2 separate regions of the Homo sapiens genome follow, and region 1 is linked to region 2. The links are contacts of gene promoters, found by promoter capture Hi-C in blood cells and fetal thymus (Javierre and others, 2016). All regions are on one chromosome and are shown on one strand. The core of a region is centred on a gene start or on the middle of the fragment in contact, and the rest is flanking DNA. Distances in the headings are between cores, read along the strand shown. Region 1 overlaps CCDC90B (coiled-coil domain containing 90B). Region 2 holds the start of ANKRD42 (ankyrin repeat domain 42).

Region 1 (5,619 bases), core at 192-2,691, 70 kb after region 2:
AATCTTGTGTAGTAAATTTTTGCTGCAACTGACAATGTTCAAAGTAAATCTCTCCCGGTTTGGTGTTCTAAGAAGCCAACAGCCACAGCAGGATGAGCATTAATACTACTTCCAGAATCTATAAAATCCCAATGCTATTGCCAGGCAAGTAAACACCGAAGCTGTGAAAAGAAGAAACTGTGTTATAGGTCTTGTATCTGTAATTATTTTGCAGAGATAAAGAGAATAATGTTATCTTTAAGTGAAGAGCAAAAAACAGGAAATCCAACCAATTTTCTATCCTATGTTTTTTATTCCCTAGACAATTAAGTATGAAAGACATTCTTAAGGGCAGCCTTAATGCCTAATTCTTCTTAAAAGCACCTGTATATTAAAATGTAAATTATGTCATTTAGAAACCTATAACCTGTATTTAAAATCATTAACGCTAGCATTATTGACTACTTTAAATAATTATAAGCTCTAATTTCAGATCTCATGATAAATGAAATCTTTCTTATATTAAAAAATTACGTAGTTAGGCTAGTAAAATATACATATATCTGTGAGAAGAGAATTTTAATTGCCTTTTCAGTACATTTTTAAATAATTTCTCATAATTCTTAATAAAATTTTAATAAAAACTCTTTAAACTCAATGAGGTAGAAGAAAAGGCAGAAAAAGCATTAGGTTTTTAAAATAGTTAATATACTACCTGTACTTTAGCTTACATCATTTTGGATAAAAAAAAATTCAGTTTTCCCAGCTTTTAGAAGGTAAGTCTGAGTGAGGCCTTTAGGGACTCCCTAGTCTCCAGTTTGTTTAAAACACCGATGAATGAATTTTTAAAAACAGACAAGTGAGAGATGAATGGAAAACTTTTATGAATAAAGACACAAGAAATTAGCCTTTCAAAGTAAAGTTATTCATAATGTATAAACCCATTTGTACACCACCCCATTTGATCCTACTACTTACTGAAACTTGGTTAATGATAAGATCATTTTCTCAGTTTTAAGAAATGGGATTAGGCATCTCTAAGAAATATAGAGAAGTAATAACACTAAGAGTTTCTTGTCTTACAGCCACTGGGCAATTATATATTCTCCCATTTGATCCTGCTACTATTTGCTGTGTGTCAAGTACTATGCTACTATGCTGAGCAATTACACACACTACTTTATTTAACCATGAGATTGGTGGTATTATCCCCATTGTACAGATGAGGTAATACACCCAGTTACATCGCTAGCAAACAGTGGAGCCGGGATTTAAGACTAAGTGTACTTGACTCCAAAGCCATTTTTTTTCTCTTAATAAAAAAACACACACACAAAATTTGTGATCCTTATTATATACTGTGACACTTGAAAGACTCAATCTGTCATTTATTTGAGTCACATAGTGCTATCTAAGTGGTTACATCCTCTGCTGATTCAACAGCTGATAAATTAAGTTTTAGATAACCAAATGAACACTTATTGTGAGGTGAAGTATACTCTACTTCAGTAGAGTATACAATCGTTACTGCATTTAAGTTTCTCTCTCATGTCTTGCTGCTGTTATTTCAGCTTTTATTTCTCATGGCTGTTGTTGCAGTAACAACAACAATTGGAGCCATCTCCAATTTCTTTTAAGTTTGCTGTTTATCCTCTATACCCTGTCTAGGGAGACATTCTACATATATGTAAAATGCTTAGGTGAGCATATGCCTGGTACATTTTAAGCACTCTGTAAACATTAGCTTTCATTATTTATCTGCCACGAACAAAATCTGCCACATTATCTACATAGATTAAATGGAAATTGCCATTATTCCTTGGTGGCAGTGTTCTGGGTCAAAAGGTGGCGTCTGACCCACGATGAACCATTCAGACTCCTTTCTGAGGATTTTAAAAATTGGAACTAAGGAAAGAGGGCAATCTCTCCTGATTAGTGAAAGTGGAATGATAAGAGTCTAGGTGGTAATGTTTCCAACCTATGGAGAAAGCTGGTATGAGAAATTGAGGCACACAGTCACAGATTTAAAGAGTAAGTTCTGATTCCAATTATGCTTGTAGGTAGGCTATTTTACTTGTGCCCCATCCACGGTTCAGCTGATGGCTGGGGGCTCCATCTTCAACCCTGCTGGCACCTCAACATCAGTAGTGACTGCCCAGAAAATGACTAAGAGTATAAATCGGCAGTTTTCTTTTAGACAGCAATTTGTTAATATCAAAAATCTTAAATGTGCATATCTTTTTGACCCCAAATTTTAAATGTACATAGCAAGTTGTTATATAGAAATACTAGCACAGGGCCACCAAGATATGTGTGTGTGTATGTGTATTTACTCAAACGTTAACACATATATATGGCTGTTCAATACAGTATTGTCCTTAATAATAAAAAACTGAAGGGAGAATGCCTGTTAATAAAGGACTGGATACATAAATTGTGGCATTTTCATATAGGGAATACTGTGCTTTCTAATAAAAAGATGTCTGTGTGGAAAGAAATAGGACATTTGGTTAAACTTTAAAAAGTTGTAGACTATAAAAAATACGTGATCTAATTATTTTTAAGAAGTATATAAGATGTTTATATACAGAAGAAAAAGCCTAGAAAATGTTTACTACTAATAGTAAATACACACGGGGAGGGGCTTTCACTTTTTCGGCTTTTGAATTCTATGAATAATTTATAATGAAATTCTGGGTTGAAAATTCTTTTCTTTAAGAATGTTGAATATTGGCCCCCACTCTCTTCTGGCTTTGTAGAGTTTCTGCTGAGAGATCTGCTGTTAGTCTGACGGGCTTCCCTTTGAGGGTAACCCGACCTTTTTCTCTGGCTGCCCTTAACATTTTTTCCTTCATTTCAACTTTGGTGAATCTGACAATTATGGAGTTGCTCTTCTCGAGGAGTATCTTTGTTGGAACCAACCCAAATGGCCAACAATGATAGACTGGATTAAGAAAATGTGGCACATATACACCATGGAATACTATGCAGCCATAAAAAATGATGAGTTCATGTCCTTTGTAGGGACATGGATGAAATTGGAAATCATCATTCTCAGTAAACTATCACAAGAACAAAAAACCAAACACTGCATATTCTCACTCATAGGTGGGAACTGAACAATGAGAACACATGGACACAGGAAGGGGAACATCACGCTCTGGGGACTGTTGTGGGGTGGGGGGAGGGGGGAGGGATAGCATTGGGAGATATACCTAATGCTAAATGACGAGTTACTGGGTGCAGCGCACCAGCATGGCACATGTATACATATGTAACTAACCTGCACATTGTGCACATGACCCTAAAACTTATAAAAAAAATTTATAATGAAAATACATTACTTTTTATAAAAGGAAAGAAAAAAGACAAGTAATAGTTGACTAGGGCATTCTTCCTAAATCACTGGGGCCCTGTAATTGGGTCAGGTCAGATGGTACTTGAGGAGCTCAGTATGTGACAAATAATCTAATTTTGGGATAGTGTCTATGCTGAATCAGTTGATTCAAGGTAAGGTCATCTGTCCCTCCTCCAGGTTTTTAATGGGCTTATATCTAATTTATTGATCTTTTTTCTCTAACCTCTTTCAAATCTTTATGGAAGAACATAAGCAATAAAAAGAAAATTTTCATTTTTTTTTCCACTGTGGAGTACCACAGTTTATCCTTCTATCATTTTCTGCTTGTGTTTATATATTTCTTTTATATCCACATGCTTTTTCTATTAGTCAGCTGCAGAGTTGCCTGCTAAACTTAGATTCTGAAGGGTAACACATCTGTGAGGATGACAGAAGCTTAACATTTAGAACTGTCCAATACTACACCCTATATGTTCCTTCCTTTGGCTGCGTCTAATTTGTAATCTGCTATAATAAAAATTATAAGTATTAAAAATAAAACCCAAGACTCCAAAAAATATATCCTGAGACTGGAACCTTCTTTAAGCACTACAGGGGACCAAGCAATAAAGGAGCCTTGTTATCTAGCTCCTCCTTTTTTTCCTGTGCCTGCTCAGTTACCTTGATAGGTAGAACTAACAGGAAAATTAGATGACAGCAATTTCTTTCTCTGACAGTCTTACCTGCAAGATAACGAATTGTCTCAAGTTTGTTAGATTCCATCAGTGTTTTTAAGGAAGCAATTTCAGCGTCAATTTTATTACTGGTCTCTGAAATAATACTTTTGGTTTGAGTATCCTGTGGTAAACCAGAATAAGAGAACTTAATTTTGTCCCTATGTATTAAATGGACAAAAGCATTTACATTATAAACCCTCACTTATGGGCTAATTGTGATATAAAAGTCTTAGTTGGGGAAACATTAAAAGCATAGTGGTGTAAAAAAATTTGAAGTGTTCCAAGATGGCCAAAAGGGAACAGCTCCACTCTGCAGCTCCCAGCGTGATCAACGCAGAAGACGGGTGATTTCTGCATTTCCAACTGAGGTACCTGGTTCATCTCATTGGGACTGGTTGGACAGTGGGTGCAGCGCACGGAGGGTGAGCTGAAGCAGGGTGGGGCATTGCCTCACCCTGGAAGCGCAAGGGGTCAGCGGATTTCCCTTTCCTAGCCAAGGGAAGCCATGACAGACTACCTGGAAAAATGGGACACTCCTGCCCAAATACTGCACTTTTCCCAAGGTCTTAGCAACTGGCAGACAAGGAGATTCTCTCCTGTGCCTGGCTCAGCGGGTCCCACGCCCACGGAGCCTTGCTCACTGCTAGCACAGCAGTCTGAAATCGAACTGTGAGGCAGCAGACTGGCTGGGGAAGGGGCATCCGCCATTGCTGAGGCTTGAGTAGGTAAACAAAGTGGCAGGGGAGCTTGAACTGGGCTGAGCCCACCACAGCACAACAATGCCTACTGTCTCTAGACTCCACCTCTGTGGGCAGGGCATAGCTGAACAAAAGGCAGCAGACAACTTCTGCAGACTTAAATGTCCCTGTCTGACAGCTGTGAAGACAGCAGTGGTTCTCTCACGACAGCGTTTGAGCTCTGAGAACGGAGAGACTGCTTCTTCAATTGGGTCCCTGACCCCTGTGTAGCCTAACTGGGAGACATCTTCCAGTAGGGGCTGACACACACCTCATATAGGCGGCTGCACCTCTGGGACAAAGCTTCCAGAGGAAGGATCAGGCAGCAATATTTGCTGTTCTGCAGCCTCTGCTGGTGATACCCAGGTAAACAGGGTCTGGAGTGGACCTCCAGCAAACTCCAACAGACCTGCAGCTGAGGGTCCTGACTGTTAGAAGGAAAACTAACAAACAGAAAGGAATAGCATCAACATCAACAAAAAGGTCATCTACACCAAAACCCCATCTGTAGGTCACCAACATCAAAGACCAGAGGTAGATAAAACAACAAAGATGGGGAAAAACCAGAGCAGAAAAGCTGAAAATTCTAAAAATCATAGTGCCTCTTCTCCTCCAGAGGATTGCAGCTCCTTGCCAGCAATGGCAAGAAGAAAACTGGACTGAGAATGACTGATGAGTTGACAGAAGCAGGCTTCACAAGGTCGGTAATAACAAACTCCTCCAAGGTAAAGGAGGATGTTTGAACCCATTGCAAGGAAGCTAAAAACCTTGAAAAAAGATTAGACGAATGGCTAACTAGAATAAACAGTGTAGAGAAGACCTTAAATGA
Region 2 (6,217 bases), core at 2,586-5,085:
TTTTGGATAAGGACTGAAAATCTCAGATTTTGGATAAGGGGTGCTCAACGTGTATAATGTTATACAAAATAATTTCTTTCTGATTTTCACAGTCTCCTTTGTAAGATGTCCCTTTGCCCTTTTTTTTTTTTTTTCCCTGAGACGGACTCTCACTCTGTCGCCAAGCTGGAGTGCAGTGGCGCGATCTCGGCTTACTGCAACCTCCACCTCCTGGGGGTTCAAGCAATTCTCCTGCCCCAGCCTCCCACGTAGCTGGGACTACAGGCGCCTGCCACCACGCCCAGCTAATTTTTGTATTTTTAGTAGAGATGGGGTTTCACCATGCTGGCTGGGATGGTCTCGATCTCTTGACCTCATGATCCGCCTGCCTTGGTCTCCCAAAGTGCTGGGATTACAGGCGTGAGCCACCATGCCCGGCCTGTTTCTTTTTTTTTTTCTGAGACAGTGTCTAGCTCTGTTGACCAGGCTGGAGTGCAGTGGTGCAATCATGGCTCACTGCAACCTCAACCTCCTGGGCTCAAGCCATCCTCCGTCCATGGGCTCCTTTGTTTCCAATACCATTTTTTTTCCTTTTCTTCCTCAGATTTGTTGAGTTTCTATTTATTGTTCTTTTCAAACACCAGCTAATTACTATCATCAATTTTATTTGCTATTTCATTAACTTCTGCTTTTATTTTTATTATTTTTGAGACGATTTTATTGAGAAGACTTTATAATCTTGCTCTGTCACCCAGGCTGGAGTGCAATGGCATGATCTTGGCTCACTGCAACCTCTGCCTCTCGGGTTCAAGTGATTCTTCTGCCTTAGCTTCCCAAGTAACCAGAATTACAGGTGCACGCCACTACACCTGGCTAATTTTTTTATTTCTAGTAGAAACAGGGTTTCATCATGTTGGCGAGGCTGGTCTCAAACTCCTGACCTCAAGTGATTCACCTGCCTCGGCCTCCCAAAGTGCTGGGCATGAGCCACTGCACCCGGAGTCTGCTTTTATTTTTAATTCCTTCTATTTTTATTTTGGGAGATTTTACTTTTTCTGCTTCTCTGTTACCTGTTTCTGTTTCCTCTTCTAATCCTTCCTGTCATGTGTGTATCCTTTAAGGATTTGTCACGTGCTGTCTCATTTCCTCAGTAAATTTATCTACTACATATTGTATAGTGAAAAAAATAAAACCTTTACCATTATTATGTAAGTGGCTATAAACACTATATTAATTTGGAGTCAGTCATAGTGGGTTCCAATTCCTCAACTCCTACTTGTGTGATCTTGGTCAAATCTGAGCTGTTTCTTCATCTGTAAAAATAAAAATAACAATACAGATTAAGTTGGGTATTATTTGCAAATCATTTATCACAGAAACTGGCCCACATGAATAACTCGATAAATGCCTGGTATACAAAAGGCCTCAGCTGCCCCATGTCTTGTTTTGTTTTTTCTTTGAGGTGGAGTTTTGCTCTTGTCGCCCAGGCTGGAGCGCAATTGCGCGATCTCAACTCACTGCAACCTCCGCCTCCCAGGTTCAAGTGATTCTCCTGCCTCAGCCTCCCGAACAGCTGGGATTACAGGCTCCTGCTACCATGCCTGGCTAATTTTTGTATTTTTAGTAGAGATGGGGTTTCGCCATGTTGGCCAGGCTGGTCTCAAATCCCTGACTTCAGGTGATCCGCTCACCTTGGCCTCCCAAAGTGCTAGAATTACAGGCGTGAGCCACCGCGCATGACTCAGTTGCCCCATCTCTAAAAGTGAGGGGATTAGGATGACTAATCCCAAATTCACTTCCAACAGTGAAAAACTTTATCTTCAGCCTATTAGTTCACCTGCCTGACAGTTAACTCATCAACCCACCCACACAACAGTTACTAAGCCCTTCTCTTAAATGAAATATTCTAGACATCAGAAATGCCAAGATTTTAAGATACAGTCCCTACCTTCCAGAAGCTCAGGGTCCTTTAGGGGTGAGGAAAAATTGTTAAACAGATAATTATAATACAATGGGATAAGTGATCTAATAAAAGGTTGTGGGAATTCAGAGACTTTGAGGAGCTCCTGCAGAAAAATTCAAGACCTATTTTGGAATCCTAAGTCAGGTATTTATTATTTACTAGTGAAGGGGGAATTAATGAATTTTATAAGTATATTAGTCAAGAAGTTTATTCTTTTCCTTAGAGGTAGAATGAAATATAGCCCCCCACCCTCCGGAGGCCTGGGTTAAGAGAGAATATTAACCGCTTATTTCTCCTCTACGCACGGAGAGGCTTATCTGTGTTCCACCGTTTCACGTTCCTTGAGGCACCACGAGTTCCTGCTTCCCTCCCTAGCGCGCTGTAAAGTCACAAGGTTGATAAGCAATTGCTACAAAAGCATGCATTCCCAAGGATGTAAGACATGTGGTGTAACAAATGTAAAAGAATAATTAACTGCCTTTGTTCTTGCTTCTGCAAGTAGGCTTCCTGTAGCACCAAACTCCCGCCACAAATTGCTTAAAAGGTGATTGATCCCTTTGTTCCGGGCTCAGACTTTCTGGACCCCAGTCCGACTGAGCCAGTGATCACCTTAATAATAAAGGGTTGTCCTGAATTCTGTTTGGCCTCTCCCGTCTCTATTTGTCCCGCAACACTAGCAGTATATCCTCAGGCAATTAACTTTTTTTTCCCTTGTTTCTCTCTCTGTAAAAAGGAAGAGGAATACTTATTTTGGCAGGTTATAATAAGAATTGAGTCAAACTCATTTATGTTGGCATAAAAAAATGAACAAGAAAATATAAAGCACTTAGTACAATGCCAGGCAGATCATAGGAACTCAGTAGATGGCAATTGTAATATTACAAAAGGTGATGGAAGTCAAAGACAATTTACTGTACCTCAAGAGAGTAGCGGTAGGATCAGAAGAATTTCCCAAATGTGTTCACAGACCAAAACTGGGGGAAAAGCAGGGTAGTTTCCTGGTAAGACGAACAGCACATGACAAGGCAGAGATATTAAAAAGTAAGGTACGCTTCCAGGACGAGTTCATTATTCCTGAAGGGAGAAGGCAATAAGGGTGGAAAAACTGGGCCGAGAGGGGAATCCAGGTTGGTGATGCCCCTGGAGGGCAGGTAATTCTTACTAATTTCTGTATTTTCTGCTGCTGGCACAAAACGTGACCCATACGTTTGCAACAAATGGTGAAATAATTCATTCCTGTTGTTAAGCAATAGGGTTGTAGAAATATTTGAGCAGTAAACATGCTACAGTGAAAGGATTCTCGGATTTGGAGTCAGGAGACCTGAAGCACTCTTTTGACTAATGACCTGTGTTTTTTTACTGGTTTTACAACTTACCTGCTGCCTGGCCTTACCAAAGTACTGATATATTGAGTCTCTTGACCCATAAAACAGGGGTAACAACTAACAAGCGATTATTAAAGAGTTGGCGCTAGTAAAGTACGCAATAAAAACAGCGGCTGCAGCTGCTAAATTCTCCTTTAGGTCTTTTTCCATACTTGCGAAATGACAGGGCAACAAATTTCCTTCCAACCACCACTGAGAAAGTATACCACGTTTGCCCAAGGACAAAAAGGCCCCGCCCGGCCCGCGCCACACAGGTCACCTACGCAGAATGCAGTCCTGGGGGGTTCCACTTGTGTCGCTCAGCGATGGAGGGCGCGATCGATGACAGGCCACTCCAGAGACGGACCTAGATAGGTTCGCATGAGGCCGAGCCGAATTTCACCAAAAACCAGTTTACACCACCTCCCGATTTGTCCACACGAAAAGCCATGGAATAGCTGAGGGAAAGGAAACCGGAAGTAGCGTGGGCCGTGAGGAACGGGAAATGACCTCAGCACGTCGGAAGTGTACTCGTTTCCAAGGCGACGGCCCTGCTGCCTCTCCAGCCAAGTGGCTGGAGTCGGGAGGCTGGAAAGAGACTCCGAGAAAGTACCAGCGGAAGGCGGCCGCCGCTACGGCGATTCGCAGGGAGTAGCAGACGAAGACGGTGGCCGCCGCACTAGCCACCACGTGTGGAGGATAAACGGTCTACACGGCCATTCCGGCGCCGAGTCTAGGGAAAGAGTTAGCGACGACGGGGAAAGAAAATGTGAAGAGAGCGACCGCCGCTCCAGGGTCGCTGCAGGAAGCCTAAGTGCAGACGCCGGCTTCTCCCGCAGTGACTTGAGAAGGGTCAGTGAAAACCTCGGCCACTGCCGCAGCGTCTCTAGGGAGAGAGTTAGGGGAGATAGTGGCCACAGTCACAGCTGCTCTTGGGAGAGAGTTAGGGGAGACAGCACCTTCTGCAGCAGCGACGTGAATTTTAGTGAAGTTGGAGGCCACCAAACTACCGACTCCAGGGGAACAGCCAGAGAAGACCGAGGCCTCCGCCTCAGTGGTCCTTGGGAGGGAGTCAGTGACATTCGGGACCCGCGAACTAGTGACTTCGGGGATAGAGTCAGTGACGATCGCAGTCGCCGCTTCAGTGGCTCCTGGGAGGGAGGGAGTGTCGAAGGCGGCCACAGCGTTGGTAGTTCTTGGGAGGAAGTAAGTGGAGACCGCGGCTACGCAGCCAGCGACTCCTCTGGTGTGAGCGGCAGTGAAGACGCCAGCTACCGCTTCAGTGGCTTTTGGGAGAGAGAAAGTGAAGACGAAGGTTTCCGCTGCAGCTTCTGGGAGAGAGCAAGAGAGGACCTTGGGCCCCGTCCTAGTGACGACGGAGAAGAGGGCCGCTGCCGCTGCAGTGGCTCGTGGGTGAGAGCAAGTGAAGACCGCCGCAGCATCAGGGGCCTGGACTCAACTCCTCCCCAGAGTCGGAGGTGTTGCGCCATGCCCGGGGTGGCCAATTCAGGCCCCTCCACTTCCTCTAGGGAGACTGCAAACCCCTGTGAGTCAGACTGTCATTGGCCTTCATCTCTGTCGTATTCCTTTTCTCACTTAAGCCCGCAACAGCCTTAGCCCTTTCTGGCATTTCCTTTTCTCAGCCGTCACTCCCCCCTTTCCCTTTTTAATTTATTTTCAGGGGATACCAAAGCTGTTCAGCTCTCCCCTGTTCTGTATTATTTCCGCTTTCTTTCCTTTTTTCCATCCACACTATTCCTCCGAGTCTTCTTGCCCAGCTTGACATCAACTCTTGTTCAGTCTTAATGGACGGACCCTTTTAAGTTCTTCCTTGACTTCCCTGCAGCATTTGACCCTGTGGAGGTGACAAATTAGTACTTACTTAGTTTTCTTCTTTCACTCCATTGAGTGACCCTTTCCCTTACCGTTTTCTTTTCTTCTGCCATCTTCTTAAATGCAGCTTTTACCCCTTGATGATGCCATCATTGGTTCTCTTTTTCTTGTCATTTACTGTGACTTCAGTCCTACTGGTGGCCCTCAAATCGGTTACTCATTCAACCATCCAGTAAATATTTACTGCATATGCCTACTTTGTGCTCCGTCTTAAGGAACTTAAGAAGACAGGCACATTCTTTACCTTCTAGTGAGGAAGATAAATGCTGAGCAAATAATGACAAGTGAGATCAGTGTTATAAAGGACGGTAGAATGCCACTGATTCCAGTAGGGGGTGAGTATGGGTGTCAGAAAAAGCATTCTAATACAGAGACACACGTAACACTGAGACCTGAATTCCGTATCTCTCCTCGGAGCTGCAAACATATATATAGATATCTCCCTTCTGGAAATTTTCCTTGGGTACCTCAAGAGCAGCATGTCCAAAATGTAATTTTATATCTATATATCCTCTCTGTCCTTCAGTGTTTGCTGTCTCAACTAATGGCACCACAGCACTCAGATGATAAAGCCACACACCTTGGAGTTATCTTATTACTTTTCCCTTGTTTCACCCACTGTATCCATTCCAGTTTAGTTCATTCTAATTTTATTAATATTTGTTGAATCTTTCTCCTTTTCTTTTCCCAGTGTTCAGAGTCTCATTTTTTCTGGTCTAGACTATTGTAAACTGTATTCTTACATGATCTACCTACTCTCTCTCTCTCTCTTTTTTTTTTTTTTTTGGAGACGGAGTCTTGCTCTGTCCCCCATGCTGGAGTGCAGTGGCGCGGTCCTCAGCTCACTGCAATCTCCGCCTTCCAGGTTCACACCATTCTTCTGCGTCAGCCTCCCGAGTAGCTAGGGCAACAGGGGCCCACCACCACACCCGGCTAATTTTTTGTATTTTTAGTAGAAACGGAGTTTCACTGTGTTAGCCATGATGGTCTCCTCCTGACCTCATGATCTGCCCACCTC

Evidence for each region. Contacts are between HindIII fragments. The CHiCAGO score rates a contact against its expected background, and 5 or more counts as called.
Region 1: a contact is called between a fragment that was not itself captured here and the fragment with the promoter of ANKRD42 in region 2, in 2 of 17 cell types (fetal thymus and naive CD4 T cells). The highest score is 5.1, in fetal thymus.

Annotation. Positions count from the first base shown.
Region 1 is chr11:83,261,806-83,267,424 of GRCh38, forward strand. It overlaps CCDC90B (coiled-coil domain containing 90B), which reads right to left. Exons shown (of 9, transcript NM_021825.5): 8 at 4,060-4,174; 9 at 1-161. The coding sequence ends at 106. It also overlaps a transcript of ANKRD42 not described here. Among named protein-coding and RNA genes, the nearest start is that of CCDC90B-AS1, 22 kb to the right of the region's middle. The HindIII fragment of the contact is 4,657 bases long and covers 1-3,770 here.
Region 2 is chr11:83,189,877-83,196,093 of GRCh38, forward strand. It overlaps ANKRD42 (ankyrin repeat domain 42), which reads left to right and starts at 3,836. Exons shown (of 11, transcript NM_001300975.2): 1 at 3,836-4,852. The coding sequence starts at 4,795. ANKRD42-DT (ANKRD42 divergent transcript) reads right to left here and starts at 3,793. Exons shown (of 3, transcript NR_149009.1): 1 at 3,591-3,793; 2 at 1,179-1,292. RefSeq lists enhancers at 3,543-3,762, 3,823-3,932, 4,453-4,812 and a silencer at 4,067-4,245. The HindIII fragment of the contact is 14,061 bases long and covers 1-6,217 here.